Regions from separate parts of the Homo sapiens genome. Here regions 1, 2, 3, 4, 6 and 7 are each linked to region 5. Evidence: promoter capture Hi-C in 16 types of primary human blood cells and fetal thymus (Javierre and others, 2016). All regions are on one chromosome and are shown on one strand. The core of a region is centred on a gene start or on the middle of the fragment in contact, and the rest is flanking DNA. Distances in the headings are between cores, read along the strand shown.

Region 1 (2,700 bases), core at 35-2,534, 330 kb after region 5:
CCCAGTTCATTCTATGAGGCCAGCATCATCCTGATACTGAAAACCTGTCAGAGACATAAGAACAAAAGAAAACTTCAGGCCAATATCCTTGATGAACGCTGATGCAAAAATCATCAAAATACATGGAAACCAAATCCAATAACATGTCAAAAAGCTAATCTACCACAGTCAAGTAGGTTTCATCCCTGGGAGGCAAGGTTGGCTCAACATATGCAATTCAATAAATGTGATTCATCACATAAACAGAATTAAAGACAAAAACCACATTTATCTCAATAGATGCAGAAAAGGCTTTCGATAAAACTCAATACCCCTTCATGTTAAAAACTCTGAATAAACTAGGTATTGAAGGAAAACCTCAAAATAATAGCCATCTATGACAAACCCATAGCCAACATCATACTGAATGGGCAAAAGCTGGTAGCATTTCCCTTGAAAACTGGCACAGGACAAGGATGTCCTCTCTCACCACTCCTATCCAACATGGTATTGGAAGTCATAGCTAGAGCAATCAGGCAAGAGAGCATCCCAAATAGGAAGAGAGGAAGTCAGGCTATCCCTGTTTGCATACGGCATGATTCTGTAGAAAACCCCATAGTCTCAGCCCAAAAGCTCCTTCAACTGATAAACAACTTCAGCAAACTTTCAGGATACAAAATCAATGTACAGAAATCTCTAGCATTTCTTTACACCAACAAGAGCAAAGTCAAGAGCCAAATCAGAAAGGCAATCCCATTCACAATTGCCACAGAAAGAATAAAATACCTAGGAATACAGCTAACCAGGGAGGGGAAGTTAAAGATGTCTACAATGAGAATTACAAAACACTGCTCAAAGAAATCAGAAGTTACAAAGAAATGGAAAAACATGCTCATGGATAGGAAGAATCAATATCATTAAAATGACCATACTGCCCAAAGCAGTGTACAGATTCAATGCTATTCCTATCAAACTATCAATATTCTTCACAGAACTAGAAAAAACTGTCTTAAAATTCATATGGAACCAAAAAAGCCTGAGTAGCCAAGGTACACCTAAGCAAAAAGAACAAAGCTGGAGATATCATGTTACCCAACTTCAAACTATACTACAGGGCTACAGTAACCAAAACAGTATGGTACTGTTACCAAAACAGGCACATAGACCAATAGAATGGAATAGCGAACCCAGAAATAAGGCTGCACACCTATGACTACCTGATCTTCAGCAAAGCTGACAAAAGCAATGGGGAAAAGACTCCCTACTCAATAAATGGTGTTGGGATAACTGGCTAGCCATATATAGAAATTGAAACTGGAACCCTTCCTTACAACATAGACAAAAATCAACTCAAGATGCATTAAAGACTTAAATGTAAAACCCAAAATTTATAAAAATTCTGAAAGAAAACGTAGGCAATACCATCCTAGTCATAGGAATGGGCAAATATTTCATAACAAAGACATCAAAAGTAATCACAAAAGAAGCAAAAATTGACAAATGGGATCGAATTAAACTTAAGAGCTTCTGCACAGCAAAAGAAACTAACAGAGTAAACCAAACGACCTACAGAATTGGGAGAAAATATTTGCAAACTATGCATCTGACAAAGGCCTAGTATCCAGCATCTACAAGGTACTTAAATTTATAAGACAAAAACAACTCCATTAAAAAGTGGGCAAAGGACATGAACAGATACTTTACAAAAGAAGACATGTGGCCAGCAAGCATGTGAAAAACTCAGTATCACTGAGGATTAGAGAAATGCAGATAGAGGTTACAATGAGATACCATCTCATACCAGTCAGAATGGCTATTATTAAAAGTAAAAAAAAAAAAAAAAAAAAAAAACCCACAGTTGCTGGCAAGGTTGCAGAGAAAAGGGAAGACTTATACACTGTTGATGAGAGTGTAAGTTAGTTCTACCATTGTGGAAAGCAGTATGGTGATTACTCAAAGGCTAACAGCAGAACTACTATTGGACCCAGCAATCTGATTACTGGGTATATACTTAGAGGAATAAAAATCATTCTACCATAAAGATATACGTATGCAAATGTCAATTGCAGCGTGATTCATGTTAGCAAAGACATGGAATCAACCTAAATGCCCATCAGTGACAGATTGGATAAAGAAAATGTGGTACATACATACCGTGGAATACTGTGCAGCTATAAAAAAGAATGAGATCATGTCTTTTGTGGGAACATGGATGGAGATAGAGGCTATTATCCTTAGCAAACTAACGCAGGAACAGTAAAACGAAATACCTAGTGTTCTCACTTACAGGTAGGAGCTAAATGATGAGAACTCCTGAACACAAGGGAACAACAGACACTGGGGTCTTCTTGAGAGTGGAGGGTGGGAGGAGGGAGCGGAGCAGAAAAAGTAACTATTGAGTACCAGGCTTAATAGCTGGGTGATGAAATTATCTGTAAAAATAAACCCCTGTGATATGAGTTTACCTATATAACAAACCTTCACATGTACCCCTGAACTGAAAATAGAAGTTAAAAAAAATTCCTGTAGTCCCAGCTCTTTGGGAGGCCAAAGTAGGAAGATCACATGAGCCCAGGGAGTTCAAGACCACCCTGGGTAACATAGACTCCATCTCTTAAAAAAAATAAAATAATTAGCCAGGCACACATGTAGTCCTAGCTATTTGGAAGGCTGAAGTGGGAGGATTGTTTGAGCCTGGGAGGTTAAGGCTACAGTGAGCCA
Region 2 (2,700 bases), core at 185-2,684, 370 kb after region 5:
TAGGACAGCAAGAAAGCTTTAGAGACTTCCAGTCAGGGACCTAATTCCATCAAACGTCTGCAGGATTTGTCTTGTCTTTTTTTTTTTTTTTTTTTCTTCTTAAATACAAAGAAGACCCAAAGGGTGGATAAGTGTACGTTCATTATAAATAAATGGAAAGGGAAAGAAAAGATGAGTGAGGTGAGTCAAGTGAGGAGTGGGATTTGATTCCTGTTTTCCCCGGGACATGAGACTTTCTTGGGAAGAGTTTTTCTGTCTCTGGGAGAAGGGATGTTGGCTGGATGGGCATTTCAGGCTTCTGAAAGAGCAAGTTTTAATATTATGTTACTTACTTTACTGATACTCCAAAACACATTTCAAACCAATTATGACTGTCTTTTGAATAAAAATGGTAATAATGTGCTATAATTTAACATGAGGGCATTTTTCTTGATTGAGGTGTTTTTGTTTGTTTGTTTTTAAGTTTTCTTATTTTTCTTGCAGTTCAGCCAAGTCTTGTCACCTTGGCAGGCAATAGTTCACTTAGTTTTATGACCACACATTACATCTCTGGCCCCAGTCAAATCATTTGTAAATGCACATATTTTGGCAAAAAGTATCCTAAGTCTACCTTTATTGGTTTAAAACCAAGTTGTGTCAGAATATCCTTCAACACTAAGAATGTATTTTTTTATTTTTATTTTTTTTGAGACGGAGTCTCGCTCTGTCACCCAGGCTGGAGTGCAGTGGCATGATCTCAGCTCACTGCTAGCTCCACTTCCTGGGTTCATGCCACTCTCCTGCCTCAGCCTCCTGAGTAGCTGGGACTACAAGCGCCCGCCACTGCACCTGGCTAATTTTTTGTATTTTTGGTAGAGACGGGGTTTCACCGTGGTCTCGATCTCCTGACTTCGTGATCCGCCCACCTCAGCCTCCCAAAGTGCTGGGATTACAGGCATGAGCCACTGCACCTGGTCAACACTAAGAACGTATTAACATTGCATTTTATTATTTAAAAATGAATATAATGGATACATTCTTGCTTCAGGGTAGTACAATTATATCAATAATTCAAAGATCTAGATAGAATGCTGACTAATTCTGTTTTGGTGTATGTGACAATGTAAAATTAGTTCATTTTATCTTTTTTTGATTCCTAGGTTTTGAAAAATGTCCTGGGCAGTAAATAAATTTAGCAGGAAAGTACGCCTACTCCATTTATCCAAATGTTAATGAACTTTCTCTTAGTGAACATGGCACTGTTGACACCACCTAAGTCATAAAAACGGGTCTCAAGGGAGGAAATGACTCAGTGTGTTTAATACAGGTTTCCCTGCTAAGCCTCAATCTGGGGAAGTCCTGTTGGTTTTGGGAAGTGAGCAGCAGTTCTCTATGTGGTTTAAAAAAACAACGACAAAAAAAAAAAAAAAAAAAAGAGACAGAAAATGAAGTGGGTAAAGAAGATTCTTTAAGTCTATTTTAGAATCCCTATTGGGTCTAGAATGCCATCTTCTGTACAAAGTATTCACTCAGAAATGTGGACCCTGAGAGCTCGGGAAATAAGGCTTGTGTAATACTCACTGGGTGGTTTGGGCCACTGGGCCTGCCTCTGAAGGCCACTGATGTTTTTGTCTCCTACAGGTGCTCAGCTTTAAGGGCTACTGGGAAAAACTGAACTCCAACCTAGAATATGTTAAGTACGCCAAGCCACACTTCCACTATAACAACAGTGTGGTCAGGAGAGAGTGGCACAACCTGATCTCTGAAGAGGTATGAGTGGGTCAGTGAGAACAAAGCCAGCAGCGAGGCATAGTGGACTGGATCCAGGTGATGCCTTTAAATCATAAGGCTGGCTTCCATGTGCAGCACTCTTCCCAATTGCCAGGGACTTGATCATTGTCATTACTGATCTCAATGGGCAGAGATGCTTCTATGATCTCTGTTCTCCTAGGGAGGAAACTGAAAAGCAGAAAGTTTAAGGGGACACACAGCACATTCATAGTAGAAGTATGATTAATATCCATGTCTCAGATGTGTTCTCAGGTTACTTATGTAGTTAAAAATTGATATTAAAAAATCTAGGTGTTCCCAACTTAGTGGTCATTAGGGGTTGGGGTAGTTGGAGGGAGAATAGTGGACGTGACTCACTGTCCAGGGGTGACCCAGGGAAATCTTTGGGGGTGATCGAAGACTTCTATGTGTTGATTGTGGTGGTACATTGTGGGACATGAATCTAAACATGATAAAATGACATAGAATGACACACACACATTGTGCCAATGTCAATTTTTGATTTTGATATTGTGCTCTAGTTAGGTAAGATATAAGCACTGAGGAGACTGGGTGGAGGGTACATTGCATCTCTCTCTAGTATCGCTGCATGTAGATTAGTGTTGTTGTGTGTAGTATATAGTTGACTCGCAGTTTCCTGTGAATCTGTAATTGTTTCAGAATAAAATATTTCTTAAAACTTTAAAAAAAATCTAGGTGTTCTGATTACCTGGAAAGTATATTTCTTCTCTCTGATGCTCTTAACTGTATTGCATTATATCCTTGACGTGAAAAGTCACCGATAAAACCTTTACCTTCCACATTTCTGACGTGTTCTCACTCCTAGAAAACAGGAAAAAGAAGGTCTGCGGCATACGTGAGGAATATTCTTGATAATGCAGTAAAGTAAGTGAAAGCAGAGGTTATCATATCTGTAAGATGGTTGACATT
Region 3 (2,700 bases), core at 87-2,586, 350 kb before region 5:
CGTGCCTGGCCCACATTCCTATTTCTGGTCCTTTTAGGCCCCAGAGAAAGCGGGATTCCTTCCCTTGGTATTAAGTTCCTAACTCTCCTGAATTTCTCAACTGTGTGTTCATCATTCAAGTTCTGCCAGGTCTGAGACACCGGAAACCATCTAGTTCTTAAGCTTGGCATTGACGGGAAGGATGCAAGGCCACTGAATGTCCAATAGAGCAAGTATCACAAGGTTTATATATTAGTACTTAGTATAGGATGGCTGCTGGCAGGGAAAAGTTAAGGGACAGAGAATGGAGATGAAATGTAACATCTCCCATCCGGAGTATGGGTTCTGTGGGATAAGGCTATAAAGCACCCTGCATGCATGCTCTTTACTAAGAGAACTGTACATAATTGTAAAGGAAATTGGAGTCAGGCTCTGATTAAGTGAATCTTCAGATCTCAGATGAAGGCAAAGAGGGCTTGTCTCACATATAAACATAACCATAAAATTGTTGACTGGAACTGAAAAGGCTCATGAAAACGCCATCATTATTCAGCTTCTTTTTCTCAAAGATGTATTTCTGAGGGACTTTTCTATATCTTTATATCGCTCAGTATGTAATTCTATTAAAGTGCTTAACACATTGTATCATATTTATTTCTTCAGGTATTCTTTTCCTTTCCCTAGAATGTGAGCTGCTCAAGGTCATGAAGAGAAGTGTTTCTAAATTCATTTTCATATTCCCAATGGCTAGCACATTGCTCTAACTTAAGGATATGGATAGGTCACCCAGTGTTTGACGAAATGAGTGAATGGATGAATGAATAACAAAACTAAAAAAAATAAGACCCCAACCAAAGATCATTAAATGGCTGTTGCTGTCCTCCTATATACCTATGTCTCTACAATTTAAGTACATCCTTAGATTTATTATTGGTTTTGATTTTGTTTTATTTATTTTATTATTTATTTATTTATTTTTTGAGACCAAGTCTCGCTCTATCGCCAGGCTAGAGTTCAGTGGTGCGATCTCGGCTCACTGCAACCTCTGCCTCCTGGGTTCAAGCAATTCTCCTGCCTCAGCCTCCCAAGTAGCTGGGACTACAGGCATGTGCCACCACGCCCGACTAATTTTTGTATTTCTAGTAGAGACGGGGTTTCACCGTGTTGGCCAGGATGGTCTCTATCTCTTGACCTCGTGATCCACCCGCCTTGGCCTTCCAAAGTGCTGGGATTACAGGTGTGAGCCGCCGCACCCGGCCACATCCTTAGATTTCTGAGACAGACTTATCAAATAAAGTCTCTTGAGTCCTAAGTTTCTATTCACATTTGGCCTTTATTCCCATTCTTAGCAAAAGGTAACACTGAGATTCTATGAAAGGCCAGCTTAACTTTGCCACTCATTCCATCTCTCAGTGGGAGCCAACTGCGTGTGCACACGTGCACACACACACACACACACACACACACGGTACATTAGCCTCACAAGGCACTGACTTTGTCTATCTTGTTGATCATTGTATCCTGACCATCTACCAAGTCCCCAAAAATATGTGTCAACTGAAAAAATGAATTAAGGATTTCACAGTGTACTGTCGTACTAACCAGTCTTCCATACTGCTGTGAAAAAGAAAAAGAACAAAAAGCTATACTAAAACTCCACATTGATTCAAAGTGATTTGCTAGTGTTCAGCAAAAGGAGAATCTAGAGTCTGCAGATGTGTTAATGCCATCGTGGGTGGCCCTTACACCTCTATCATTCTGTCTCTGGAATGGCAGTAATTGCAACTGACCTGTCTTCCTCATAGCTATGTTGGAGAGAGGAAAAGAAAGATCTCTTCTCTAGTCCTATACAGACATACACACATGCCTCTATTAGTTAAAGCAGCCATATGTCTACTTAGAAATAATGGATGACAAACTTAAAAAGTGAGAGAATGCTATAGGAACTCTCGGTTCTGAAAAGGAAACATTAATGGTACCGTAAATTTTGGAGTTGGGGGAGTCACATTATTTTAATGAACATTTCTCATAAAATAATAGAATAATGATGTCCTCCTCATAATAGAAGTGCAAGTTATAACACAAATTATCCCCATTGGTTTTTCATTTACCTTTAATCATGCTACCCTGGGAAAATAGAGGAGTAAAGAGAATTAGCTTGAACCTGAAAGATTTCTACTCTAGTAACTGGCCCAATCCATTAATTGTCACTATTCTTTTTTGCATTTGCTTTAGGTGAAAGTCTGGCAAAAATCAAACTTAGTAAAACTAGTAATTATACCAAAAATACATTAGTTCTCAGTTTGTTAGTTTTTGAGGCTGAAACTTACACCTCTTAAGGTTTATAATTATTTCCCCTCAGTAAATTGTGGATTCCTGTGTTCTAGGGAAAGGCATTGCCAAAAATAAAGTGCAAGCTGCTTAATCTTCACTCTTTCCTAAGCAAACGACGATGTGAAAAGTTGACCGTGAAGACATTGTCTGTACATCCGTTAAAATTTCTTTGACTCGCTCGACTCATTCAAGCTTAAAGGCTAAAAAAGAAGAAGGCACTGACAGGCCTTCCTCTGGGACTCTCTGAATCCCAAATCCAGCTTTGTCAGTTATTTCAAGTGGATATAAATGGAGATTTTGGCCAATCCTTTCCAGCCCCAGAGGTCAAGGGAGCAGCTGCACTTCTAAAAATTAATCTAAAACTATGTTCCCAACAAAACTTTCTCT
Region 4 (2,700 bases), core at 152-2,651, 330 kb before region 5:
TTACATCTCTGGTAATATAAGTGAAACAAATACATGTTTGAAGGCCATTAACGATGGCTCCATACTTGGAAACAATGCTTCAGAAAGAGCAGATGCAAAGTAAAACCATTTGTTCTGCAATTTTCAAGGTACTTTTGTTTATATTTTGTTACAAAAAGCAATCACCTTAGTGATGGCTGAACAGATGCAAATGAACCTTTATAGTTTGAACACAATTCTTAAAAGGTTTTTCTTTTGAATGCCAAATGACTTCACATTACTGTCCTTTGATCTACCTTAATCATTTTAGTATTTTCCCATAATATTCTAAATTAAAAGAAAATAGATTTCAATAAAACCACACCAGTATTGTCTAACCCCAGACAACTGTAGGTTGCAACAGGAAAGAGTTTTATAACAAATGGCACTAAATTCATGGATATTTTTACAGAATAATTCTAGTCATTTGAGCAGTAAAAGTATTTATGTCTCAAAGTGACTCAGTGTCTCCAGTATCTAATATATTTTCAATTCAATCCAGCTTCAAGGAATGTCACTGTGAAGATATTTTTTTAAGTAGATAGTACTATCCCTGCCCTTAAGAAATCCAATTTTATTGTTCTCTGATTGCAGGTCATATTTCTTTTTCTTTTTCTTTCTTTTTTTTTTTTTTTTGAGATGGAGTCTCACTCTGTCGCCCAGGCTGGAGTGCAGAGGCATGATCTCGGCTCACTGTAACTTCTGCCTCCCAGGTTCAAGCGATTCTCATGCCTCAGCATCCCGAGTAGCTGGGATTACAGGCATGTGCCACCACACCCGGCTAATTTTTGTATTTTTAGTAGAGACGGGGTTTTACCATGTTAGCCAGGCTGGTCTTGAACTCCTGACCTCAGGTGATCCACCCGCCTTGGCTTCCCAAAGTGCTGGGATTACAGGTGTGAGCCACCGCGCCTGGCCTGCAGGTCATATTTCTATCATTTTCACAGATCAATGCTCTAATCATAGCGACTGTGTCCAAGGTTCAAACACAAATGGCGTTTGAGAGTCTCCATTAGGAATAACGATGGACCTGCTTCTGACAATCACTTTAGATGGAAGTTTCTGTTATACTGCCCCAGAAGAAGACATGAGCCCTCATTTCTCAATCAGACTAGCAGACAGTAAAGACATTCAGCGTCAGTGTTTCAGCTGAGTTTGTAGAACATTACCCAATTCCGAAAGCCATTCAATGCCCCTTAGCTACCAGCTGTGTGGCCTTGAACAAGTTCCTTAACCTCTGTGTCTCTGTTTCCTCATCTGTAAAATGTGTCAGTTTACATGTATTAACATGAGTTAATACATTTCAGGGCCTTCAAAGAGTGCCTGGCATCTAGTAAGTACCTCAGTCAGTGTTAGCTATTGCCATTATGAGTAGTATCAATAGCAATAATGCTTCTATTATCTTCCTGACCACTCTAATCCAAGACGCAGTCGTTAGGCCCTGGGTTCATGCCCTGTAATGAGAGTAGGAAAGCAATGTAGGAACTCTTATTCATGGCTTTCGGAAACACCCAGCCTGAAGCTGGATGCCCTGAGGCCACTGGTGAGGTATGGGACAGCTGACAAAGTCTCTTTCCCCACCCCACCTCCGGCCCCACCCGAACCCCACCATTGCCCACAGTCTCTGGCTCCCTTCTAAGGGTTTTCTTGTTTATGTTTTGTTATAAAGAGCAATCACCTTTGTGATGGTGGAACAGATGCAAATGAACCATTATAATTTGGGCACAATCCTTAAAAGATTTTTCTTTCTCAACCTCTGTGTCTTCAGCACAGGATAAAATTAACTCTCCTTTGATGTGGGTTATGCTTTCCTCTTCTGCACAAATGTTTGCTGGAGTTAAGAGCCATATGGGAAAACCAAGAATACAGATACTTATTTACTGCAACAAGCAGTTTATTCCTATTGGGTCAGCTCTCTGGTTTTACCATCACTTTGGTTATATATCATAAACAAGCTGTTGAAACACAATTTCTGTAGATGAGATTTTTTATTTCTGGCATATGAAGTGAAGGAGCACATTTTATTTTTTAATATTGCTGGGCTCCTACAAGATAATTTGAGAAACCATACATCTTTTAACTAAAACATAATGGGGTGTGTGTGATCTGTGTGTATATATACTGATATGTACTTATGGATTAATCAATCTGTTTTCTAGGAAAGATCCAAACTGGCTAGAACTGACAATAGGAAGGGTAAGAAACTTGATCCTAACTTAGGAGAGGGGCTTGCTTCTCCCACAGTGGAATATAAGATATTTAGAGTCTATCTTACCTGTGGGTTCATTGGAACATTTTCTGGCATGTTGGTTAATGACTTCCCAGGGACAGAGCTCCTTTAAGTAAAGCTATTACTGCATCATTAGAGCTCATAACACGGGAAAGAACATCCATAAAAATTCAGAATTTGACTTTGCGCCCTGGGAATCTGAGCTTCTCTTCATCCCTGTCCATCCTAAGGGGCCTCCGATGAAAGCGGGAACTCTTCCCAGTGTATTTCTGTGGCTGGCTTCCTCCTTGTTCCCTCTCCCCAAACTTAGTCATTTCCCCTCCCGCTTCACATACACATTACCATTTCACCACCATCATCCCTCTCAAAACTGATCAAAGTTCCAAATACAAACCTGTTTTTGACAGATTATACTTCAAATGAAAATCCTTTGCCCTGAAGTGTTTCCTCAA
Region 5 (2,700 bases), core at 13-2,512:
AAAAAAGAATATGGCTGAAAATTCTTTCAGAAGGGTGGTATTTCAAACAGGACCACCCAAAACACTTAAGAATACGCAGCGGAGAGTAGGGTGCAGGGAGGGTACCTTACGAAACAGCGCACTTCGGGCCCTGCACGCTACCTCATTTCCCTAATAGGGATGAAAAGCTCAGGCCTCTGGTAGCTTCCAGCTGACGCCAGTGCTCTCTCCACACCCCTTTTTTGACAGGATTATCCGGGGTTGAACGCTGTGTCACAAATACGAATTCCCGCGACCACGTCTAAGTGGTCTAACAATCAATCAAGCATCTTTTACAAAACCAAACCCTTCCCCCATCCCGTTCCCTCCATCTCTCTCCCTAGCCAAACAAACCTAGGAGAGTCCTCAAGATGGATTTTCACAAATCCTGCAGCGCACTAACTGGGAGGAAGAAACGATACAGAAAATAAGAGTGTCGGCCATCCCCCTCTCTGCAACCGAAATTACAGGCTCCATTTCCTGTCCCCTTGGGAACTGCAAAATCCTCTGCTGAAAACCGGACGCCTCCCAGCCCCTCCAGGCCGGCGCACGCGGCCGCCGCGCTCCCCCTTCCCGGGCCCCGTGGGCGCCAGGGGGCGGCGGGGACCCACGGCGCCCTCCCCTCCCCCTCCCCGCACGGCACCCACCTCGGGGCAGCGGCTTCACCTCCCCGTTCTCCTCCCGGGAGGCCCCGCCGGCCTCTCGGGCCCCACCGAGACCGTGCCTCCTCCTCTCCTTCTCCCGCTTCTCCTTAGGTCTGCGCGACTTGGCGTTAGCCGAGGCAGCGGCGGCGGCGGCGGGCAGGAGGAGATGGTGAGGCTGAGCGTGCAGCAGCGTAGGAGGGACCAGCAGTTTGCGCGGCACCGGCTGAGACAAGGAAGCGGAGGCTGAGGAGGGAACGGCCGTGCCAGCGGAGAAAGAGAAACTGCTCCGAGAAGAGGACGGGGAGGGAGCAGCAGACAGAGGGGCAAAGCTCCAAGACGCGGGGCTGCCATAGCTCTGAGGCGAAGGTGCTGCCGGCGGCTGCAGCTGCCTGCTGTTCCCGCCGCTGCCCCCTTCTCCGTTCACTCTCCGCGGTGCCTTCTTCTCCTCAGTCCGGACCTTCTTGGCGGACAGAGAACCCGGAGGGTCCCGGGAGGAGAGTTGCAGCTTGCCAAACGGTTCTTTCTCCGAGACGGTGGCGGTGGGGGCCGCGGCAGCGACACAGTGCACGGGGCTCGGCGGTTCCGCCATTTTGCGCTCCTGTTGTATTTACTCTCCTCCGCTAGCCGGCGCGGGGCAGGGGGCGGGCCCTCCGCGAGGGGTAGGGAAGGGGCGGAGCGGCCAGGCCACCAGCCGGCATTGCTCCATTGGGCAAGCCACGCTGAGGGATCCACCTAAGAGCCAATCAAAGGCACAAACATCAGACGAAGGGGCGGGATCGCCACAGGGACCCTCTTCGGAGGTCAGAGCTCGGCGGGGTGCGGCTAGTGGCGGAGCGCGCTGCGAGGGGAGGGCTTTCCACTGTCGCTGGCGTGAACTCGCGTGCCCGGTGGGTATCAGGGAAGAACCCCCGCCCCGGACCCCCAGATCTGCCATGGCCGAGGTAGCGATCGTCTCTGCGGCCACGAAGACTGTTTTAACTTGTACCACTTTCCCTTCCATTTTTCCTGGGGTGCCTCTCACCCTGCATCTGCGCGTTCAGCAAGCTGGATTTCGGGAATGCTCAGTTCAGAAGAGAAAAAATTGCCGGGAATCAAGTCCTTCTTTTTGTTAGTCGGTAGTCGATTGATGGGAAGTGTTCAAAATCATTCGATGTGGTGACAAGGTACGTTATTATTGCTAGATCATGTGCTGTAATCCATTGAAGGAGATAACTTCCAGCAAATCTAGAACTTTAGTATTACTTACAAGCTTGAAGGTGAGAGTCTCCCTTTGGAGACTTTTGAACTGTTGTGACTAGACCCTTAAGATTTTTATTTTATTTATTTATTTATTTATTGGGACGGAGTTTTGCTCTGTTGTCGAGGCTGGAGTGCCGTGGCGCGATCTCGGCTCACCGCAACCTCCGCCTCCCAGATTCAAGCGATTCTCCTGCCTCAGCCTCCCCAGTAACAGGGACTACAGGCGTCCGGCACCATGCTTGGCTAATTTTTGTGTTTATTAGAGACGGGGTTTCACCATGTTGGCCAGGCTGGACTCGAACTCCTGATCTCAGGTGAGCGGCCCACCTCCGCTTCCCAAAGTGCTGGGATTACAGGCGTGAGCCACCATGTGCGGCCTTAAGATTTGAATTTTATAATAATTATTATAGCCGGGCGCGGTGGCTCACACCTGTAATCCCAGCACTTTGGGAGACCGGGGCGGGCGGATCACGAGGTCAGAAGTTCGAGACCAGCCTGACCAACATGGTGAAACCCCGTCTCTACTAAAAATGCAAAAATTAGCTGGGCATGGAAGCGCGCACCTGTAATCCCAGCTACTGGGGAGGCTGGGGCAGGAGAATCGCTTGAACCCAGGAGGCGGAGGTTGCAGTGAGCCGAGACTGCGCCACTGCACTCCAGCTTGGGCGACAGGGCAAGACTCCGTCTCAAAAAATAATAATAATAATAATAATATTATTATTATTATAACGTAGACTTGCCAGGAAAAATTCGTTGGCGATTATTTATGGATGTTTGAAAAGCAAGAATTGTTTTTTTA
Region 6 (2,700 bases), core at 28-2,527, 350 kb after region 5:
TTTTTTTTGTAGAGATGGGGTCTTGCTATGTTGCCAGGATGATCTCAATCTACTGGCCTCAAGTCATCCTCCTGCCTTAGCCTCTTAGAGTGCTAGGATTATAGGTGTGAACCACCATGATGGACCATAATTTTTTAATGGACAACAAACCAGTGAAGAAAAATTTTGAAAGAAATATCATCCATAATTCTACAGTTCCTAATGTACCAACTGTCTCTTCTCCCCCATTTCCTCTTGGCCTTTGTTATAGGTATGCATATTTTACCCAGTAGTAATTGTGATCTACAGATATTAGATAAATTTTAGAAATTATGTTATTGTAAACATTTTTTCATGTTGCTATGTAAACTTATAATTTCTAATGACTCCATAGGATTCCACTGGATGGCAGTGTCTTTTTCTTTTTATTATTTTAAATTAGTAAGTGTGTGAGGAAAAACTCTGTCCAAACTGTGTTTTCCCTCTCTCTCACACTGCAACAATAATCATCAACACAGAAAAACACTTCTGTTACCAAATGTGTGGGAATTCTTCATGTACCAAGCAGCAGACACCAGCTGGGTGTCCTTTAATTCAGTTCTGACACTATCTACCTAGAGACAGTGTCAGATCCCACAGGTTGGGGGACATAGTCCCCAAGACTACCCTCCACACCCCCAGATAACAGGTGCAAGTCCAGACCTCTGGAACTTCTGACCAACTGTCTTTAAGTTGGGGTTCCCACGGTACCTCTTTAGGTTTGATTAATTTGCTGGGGTGGCTCACAGAACTCAGGGAAACATGTTTACTGGCCTATTATAAAGGATATTGCAAAGGAAACAGATGAAGAGACGCATAGAGTGGGGTATGGGGGAAGGGACGTGGAGCTTCCATGCCCTCTTTCGATTCACCACCCTCCAGGAACCTCCACCTGTTCAGCTATGGGGAAACTTCCCCAACCCAGTCTTCTGGGATTTTTATGGAAGCATTCCTTCCCTCCAGGGTATGAGGCAGGACCCTCTTAGGGGAGGGTCTTAAGATCTGCAATCAGAAAGGCAGGGGGGTGGGGCGGGGGGTGGTGGTGGGGAGTGGTGGAGGGGAGAGTCATGCCTTAGGGCAGGTGAAAGGAAGGCAGGAGAGAGAGTTTCCCGAGACTAGTCCTGGTCCCGAAGCCTAAAATACCCGATATTATAACATCAGGCTGTAACAAAGGCTATGGGCATTGTGAACCAGGAGTGGGTGGATGAAAATTAATACATACAAAACACCACAATAAGTATGTCATACTTTTTTTTTTTTCTTTTTTTGAGGTAGGGTCTCACTCTGTTGCCCAGGCTGGAGTGCAATGACATAGTCACAGCTCACTGCAACCTTGAACTCCTGGGCTCAAGCAGTCCTCTTGCTTCAGCCTCCTGAGTAGCTAGGACTACACGTACATGTCATCATGTCTGGTTAATTAAAACTTTTTTTTTTTTTTTTGGTAGAGACAGGGTCTTACTATGTTGCCCAAGCTAGTTTCAAACTCCTAAGCTAAAGCCATCCTCCTAACTCGGCCTCCCAAAGTGTTGGTATTACAGGTATGAGCCACCATGCCCTGCTGGGTTGCAGTGCCTTAACTCAATTGTTCTTCTGTTTTTTGGACATTTAGTTTGTCCCTAGCCCCCATTAAAAAAATTTCTTTTTGCTGTTAGAAATAATGTTGCAGAGAATTTTTTTTCTTTCTTTCTTTTTTTTTTTTTTTTTTTTGAGATGGAGTCTCATTCTCGTTGCCCAGGCTGGAGTGCTTTGGTGTGATCTCGGCTCACTGCAGCCTCTGCCTCCTGGGTTCAAGCGATTCTCCTGCCTCAGCCTCCTGAGTAGCTGGGATTACAGGTGTGCACCACTATGCCCGGATAATTTTTGTATTTTTAGTAGAGGCGGGGTTTCACCATGTTGGTCAGGCTGGTCTCGAACTCCTGACCTCAGGTGATCTGCCCACCTCGGCCTCCCAAAGTGAACATTTTTATACATACAGTTTTTCTTTTGATCTATTCCCCTAAGGTTAAGAGCCCAGAGGTAACATTGGGTGAAAGGCTATGACGATTTTTATAGCATTTGATTCTTATTTTGTGATAAATTGATATTCAATGAAAGGGATGTCACGTGCGTCCAGGTGAAGAGACCACCAAACAGGCTTTGTGTGAGCAATAGAGCTTTTTAATCACCTGGGTGCAGGCGGGCTGAGTCCGAAAAGAGTCAGCGAAGGGAGATGGGGTGGGGCCGTTTTATAGGATTTGGGTGGGTAGTCAAAAATTACAGTTAAAGGGGGTTTTCTCTTATGAGCAGGGGCGTGTGTCACAAGTTGCTCAGTGGGGGAGCTTCTGAGCCAGGAGAAGGAATTTCACAAGGTTAATCGCTCAGTTAAGATGGGGCAGAAACAAGTCGCAATGGTGGAATGTCATCAGTTAAGGCAGAAACCGGCCATTTTCACTTCTTTTGTGATTCTTCACTTCCTTCAGGCCATCTGGATGTATACGTGCAGGTCACAGGGGATATGATGGCTTAGCTTGGGCTCAGAGGCCTGATAGTCCTGTCTTCTTATATTAATAAGAAAAATAACATAAAATAGCATTGAAGTGTTGGGGCAGCAAAAATTTTTTGGGGGTGATATGGAGCAATAATGGGCAATGTTTCTCAGGGCTGCTTCGAGCAGGATTAGGGGCAGCATAGGAACCTAGAGTG
Region 7 (2,700 bases), core at 109-2,608, 310 kb before region 5:
TTTTAGTAGAGACGGGGTTTCACTGTGTTAGCCAGGATGGTCTCGATCTCCTGACCTCGTGATCCGCCCGTCTCGGCCTCCCAAAGTGCTGGGATTACAGGCATGAGCCACCGTGCCCGGCCAAAATTCTTTTAATCTCTTATACCTGACTTTAGCCTGGCCAAATGGCAAATACTTGTGTCTTTTGAGCTTTGCCAAAGGCAACCTCAAAGGTGAAGTCAATAAGTTTTAACTAAAGTTATGACTTAACCATGAGTGTACAAGGTATTTTTAGAAAAGTGATAAGCAATTTTTACAAAATTTAGAGTCCACAAAAGTAGCTCTGAGAAAGGAAAATTCAAGAAGAGAAATCAGGCTGGGCGCGGTGGCTCATGCTTGTAATCCCAGCACTTTGAGAGGCCAAGGCGGGCGGATCACGAGGTCAGGAGATCAAGACCATCCTGGCTAACATGGTGAAACCCCATATCTATTAAAAAATACAAAAAAATTAGCCAGGTGGGGTGGCGGGCTCCTGTAGTCCCAGCTACTCAGGAGGCTGAGGCAGGAGAATGGCATGAACCAGGGAGGCGGAGCTTGCAGTGAGCCGAGATCGCGCCACTGCACTCCAGCCTGGGCAACAGAGCAAGACTCCGTCACAAAAAAAAAAAAAAGAGAGAGAAATCAGAAGTTGTGCATGGAGGGGCAGGGAATACAGTGATTTTTACCATTTCTACAACCAGTTTGCACAGAGAGAGAAGCCAGAAGTCTGACTGGTAAGAAGTTTAATATTTTCTTTTGGAGGGAGGGGATGCCATTTGCCCCACCCAACAGGCTTAGCCCTGTCATCCTTTTTCTACTCTCCATTATAAAAGACTTAAGAGGCTAATCTGAGGACTTCCTGCATGGTGTACTGGGTTTCGAAGCTGAGTCTTGTAATTTCTTTCCAGTTTATTTTTAAGCCAAGAAGTTTAAGATTTGAGGAAATTAAACTTTTCCCAGTTTTGGAGAATGCATCCAAGGGGCATGTCCTGTGGTATGGAGATGCGATTACCCATCTGCCACTCATGAAGAGAACAAAGGACGGGAAAAAAAAGAAAAAAGAAGGCATCCCCCCTTTCTTCCTATTATTCTGGATGGGGCATCCCCCATCGTCCTGGGTTCCAGGCTTAATCAGTCTTACTGTATACCCTTGGTTCTTGGTTCCAGGCTTAACCAGTCTTACTGTGTACCCTTGGGCAGATCTAGAATTCTAACCCAGGTCCGTCTTAATACAAAGTCTGGTATGGAGTAAGTGCTCAACAAGGAGTTGTTAAATAAAAGAATACTCCTTCCAAAACACTTCTGAGAGCAGGAGTGATTCAAGCCTCCCTGTTTCTCTGCAGGCATTTCTGAAACAGAGCATGCTCTGCCTAGGACTTCCTGGGCCATCTCTTCACCTGACACAGCCCATGTGTATACAGGATTTGTTCCCTAACAGTAAGACATCTAGCCTCGTTCCAGGGCCAGGAGCCAAGGACATGAACAGTAGAGTTAACCTAGCATTAGAATGGCAGGATTATTACTCTGGATATATATAATGATTGTTTTCACAGTGATATTATGCATATTTCCATTTGATTCTCACACTATATAAAATGGGAATGGGGACTATATCTTTGCAGAGACGAAGAAGTTGTGGTCTTTAAGATTATTTGCCCAAAGTCACGCAGCTACTAAGAAGCATAGCACTCAGCTTCTAAATCCCAATCTTAGACCCTTTCCAGCGCACAGCGAGAGGAAGGGTACAGAGGGAGTACAAGGACAAAGCCACCAAGTGGGAGGAGCCCATGGCTTGGGCAAAGGGGTGGGACAGGGGTCAAGACAACGGAAGAACATCAGAAGTGGGTAAGATGGTAGGGACTCCTAGACCATGTAGCTGGAGGGGACCTCAGAGAGAGGGAGACAAGAGGTTGTGCAATTTCAGGTGGGTCCTTCCAAATTAATATGATTAAAACGACTCTTAGGAATAAAGAATAAAACATGCTAATGAAAGCAGAACGCTCTCTTAATATCTTTAAATGCTTGCCTTAAGGCAAAAGCCACAGCAAAGGGAGACTGCTGAACCATTAGGCAAAGGAACTGTCCTATGCATCATAAATGCATTCACAAAAGTGTTAGGATGCAAAGAGTGCCTTGCTACTGGAAGCAAAGACAGAAAAGATTTGACTTCTTGAAATCCAGGTACCAGGAAAGACATGAGCCAATTTATTTTTCCAGCGCTTAACAAGATAATACAAATGAGCTGCAACTGCTTCAACCATAATGGACATGGAATAAAAAGAGAAATTCATAGAAAGAATGCTTCAGAACAGAGACCCATGTAAACTACCCTTTCCAAATGTTAAAAATTAGCAGGGGTCATAAGATTCAGGGACATACCTTCAACTATCTCTGTGTTCTGCAGGCATGCCTGGATTCTTGCTTCTTGATCTGGATTTCCAACTCTGAGATGGCCCTAGGCATGGCCCAAAGCAAGCCAAAGTGAGCAAATGCGGCACTACAAGACAAAGGCTGAGAATATATGTATATATACTCACACGTGAACACACAGAGACTCACGAGCACACAGATACCCAGATTCACACACATCTATCCAGGGACTCCAATTTTAGTACTTTCATTGTGACAAAATAACATCTATGCCAAAAAGTACACAAAAACATTTGGATGGTTTACTCAGTT

The links. Contacts are between HindIII fragments. The CHiCAGO score rates a contact against its expected background, and 5 or more counts as called.
Region 1: a contact is called between a fragment that was not itself captured here and the fragment with the promoter of RSBN1L in region 5, in 11 of 17 cell types (monocytes, total B cells, non-activated CD4 T cells and 8 more). The highest score is 15.2, in monocytes.
Region 2: a contact is called between a fragment that was not itself captured here and the fragment with the promoter of RSBN1L in region 5, in 7 of 17 cell types (total B cells, total CD8 T cells, non-activated CD4 T cells and 4 more). The highest score is 9.0, in total B cells.
Region 3: a fragment that was not itself captured here is called in contact with the fragment with the promoter of RSBN1L in region 5 in 2 of 17 cell types (fetal thymus and total CD4 T cells); the score reaches 5.6 in fetal thymus.
Region 4: a contact is called between a fragment that was not itself captured here and the fragment with the promoter of RSBN1L in region 5, in 7 of 17 cell types (total B cells, naive B cells, non-activated CD4 T cells and 4 more). The highest score is 10.9, in total B cells.
Region 6: a contact is called between a fragment that was not itself captured here and the fragment with the promoter of RSBN1L in region 5, in 6 of 17 cell types (non-activated CD4 T cells, naive CD8 T cells, total CD8 T cells and 3 more). The highest score is 11.0, in non-activated CD4 T cells.
Region 7: a contact is called between a fragment that was not itself captured here and the fragment with the promoter of RSBN1L in region 5, in 1 of 17 cell types (total CD4 T cells). The highest score is 5.4, in total CD4 T cells.

What each region holds. Positions count from the first base shown.
Region 1 is chr7:77,365,029-77,367,728 of GRCh38, reverse strand. The region is part of intron 12 of GSAP (gamma-secretase activating protein); the gene reads left to right. Among named protein-coding and RNA genes, the nearest start is that of GSAP, 50 kb to the left of the region's middle. The HindIII fragment of the contact is 6,987 bases long and covers 1-2,700 here.
Region 2 is chr7:77,329,288-77,331,987 of GRCh38, reverse strand. It overlaps GSAP (gamma-secretase activating protein), which reads left to right. Exons shown (of 31, transcript NM_017439.4): 20 at 1,621-1,749; 21 at 2,597-2,655. Among named protein-coding and RNA genes, the nearest start is that of CCDC146-AS1, 82 kb to the right of the region's middle. The HindIII fragment of the contact is 2,831 bases long and covers 19-2,700 here.
Region 3 is chr7:78,043,425-78,046,124 of GRCh38, reverse strand. All of the region lies in intron 21 of MAGI2 (membrane associated guanylate kinase, WW and PDZ domain containing 2), which reads left to right. Among named protein-coding and RNA genes, the nearest start is that of DDX3ILA1, 54 kb to the right of the region's middle. The HindIII fragment of the contact is 2,343 bases long and covers 165-2,507 here.
Region 4 is chr7:78,025,582-78,028,281 of GRCh38, reverse strand. All of the region lies in intron 21 of MAGI2 (membrane associated guanylate kinase, WW and PDZ domain containing 2), which reads left to right. Among named protein-coding and RNA genes, the nearest start is that of DDX3ILA1, 37 kb to the right of the region's middle. The HindIII fragment of the contact is 2,914 bases long and covers 1-2,700 here.
Region 5 is chr7:77,695,021-77,697,720 of GRCh38, reverse strand. RSBN1L (round spermatid basic protein 1 like) reads right to left here and starts at 1,262. Exons shown (of 8, transcript NM_198467.3): 1 at 666-1,262. The coding sequence starts at 1,251. It overlaps APTR (Alu-mediated CDKN1A/p21 transcriptional regulator), which reads left to right and starts at 1,456. Exons shown (of 2, transcript NR_134254.1): 1 at 1,456-1,825. RefSeq lists silencers at 42-141, 432-751, 1,222-1,441 and enhancers at 962-1,191, 376-1,271, 1,272-2,167. The HindIII fragment of the contact is 2,163 bases long and covers 1-1,913 here.
Region 6 is chr7:77,345,296-77,347,995 of GRCh38, reverse strand. The region is part of intron 19 of GSAP (gamma-secretase activating protein); the gene reads left to right. Among named protein-coding and RNA genes, the nearest start is that of GSAP, 70 kb to the left of the region's middle. The HindIII fragment of the contact is 5,489 bases long and covers 1-2,700 here.
Region 7 is chr7:78,007,206-78,009,905 of GRCh38, reverse strand. No RefSeq gene overlaps it. Among named protein-coding and RNA genes, the nearest start is that of DDX3ILA1, 18 kb to the right of the region's middle. The HindIII fragment of the contact is 6,998 bases long and covers 1-2,700 here.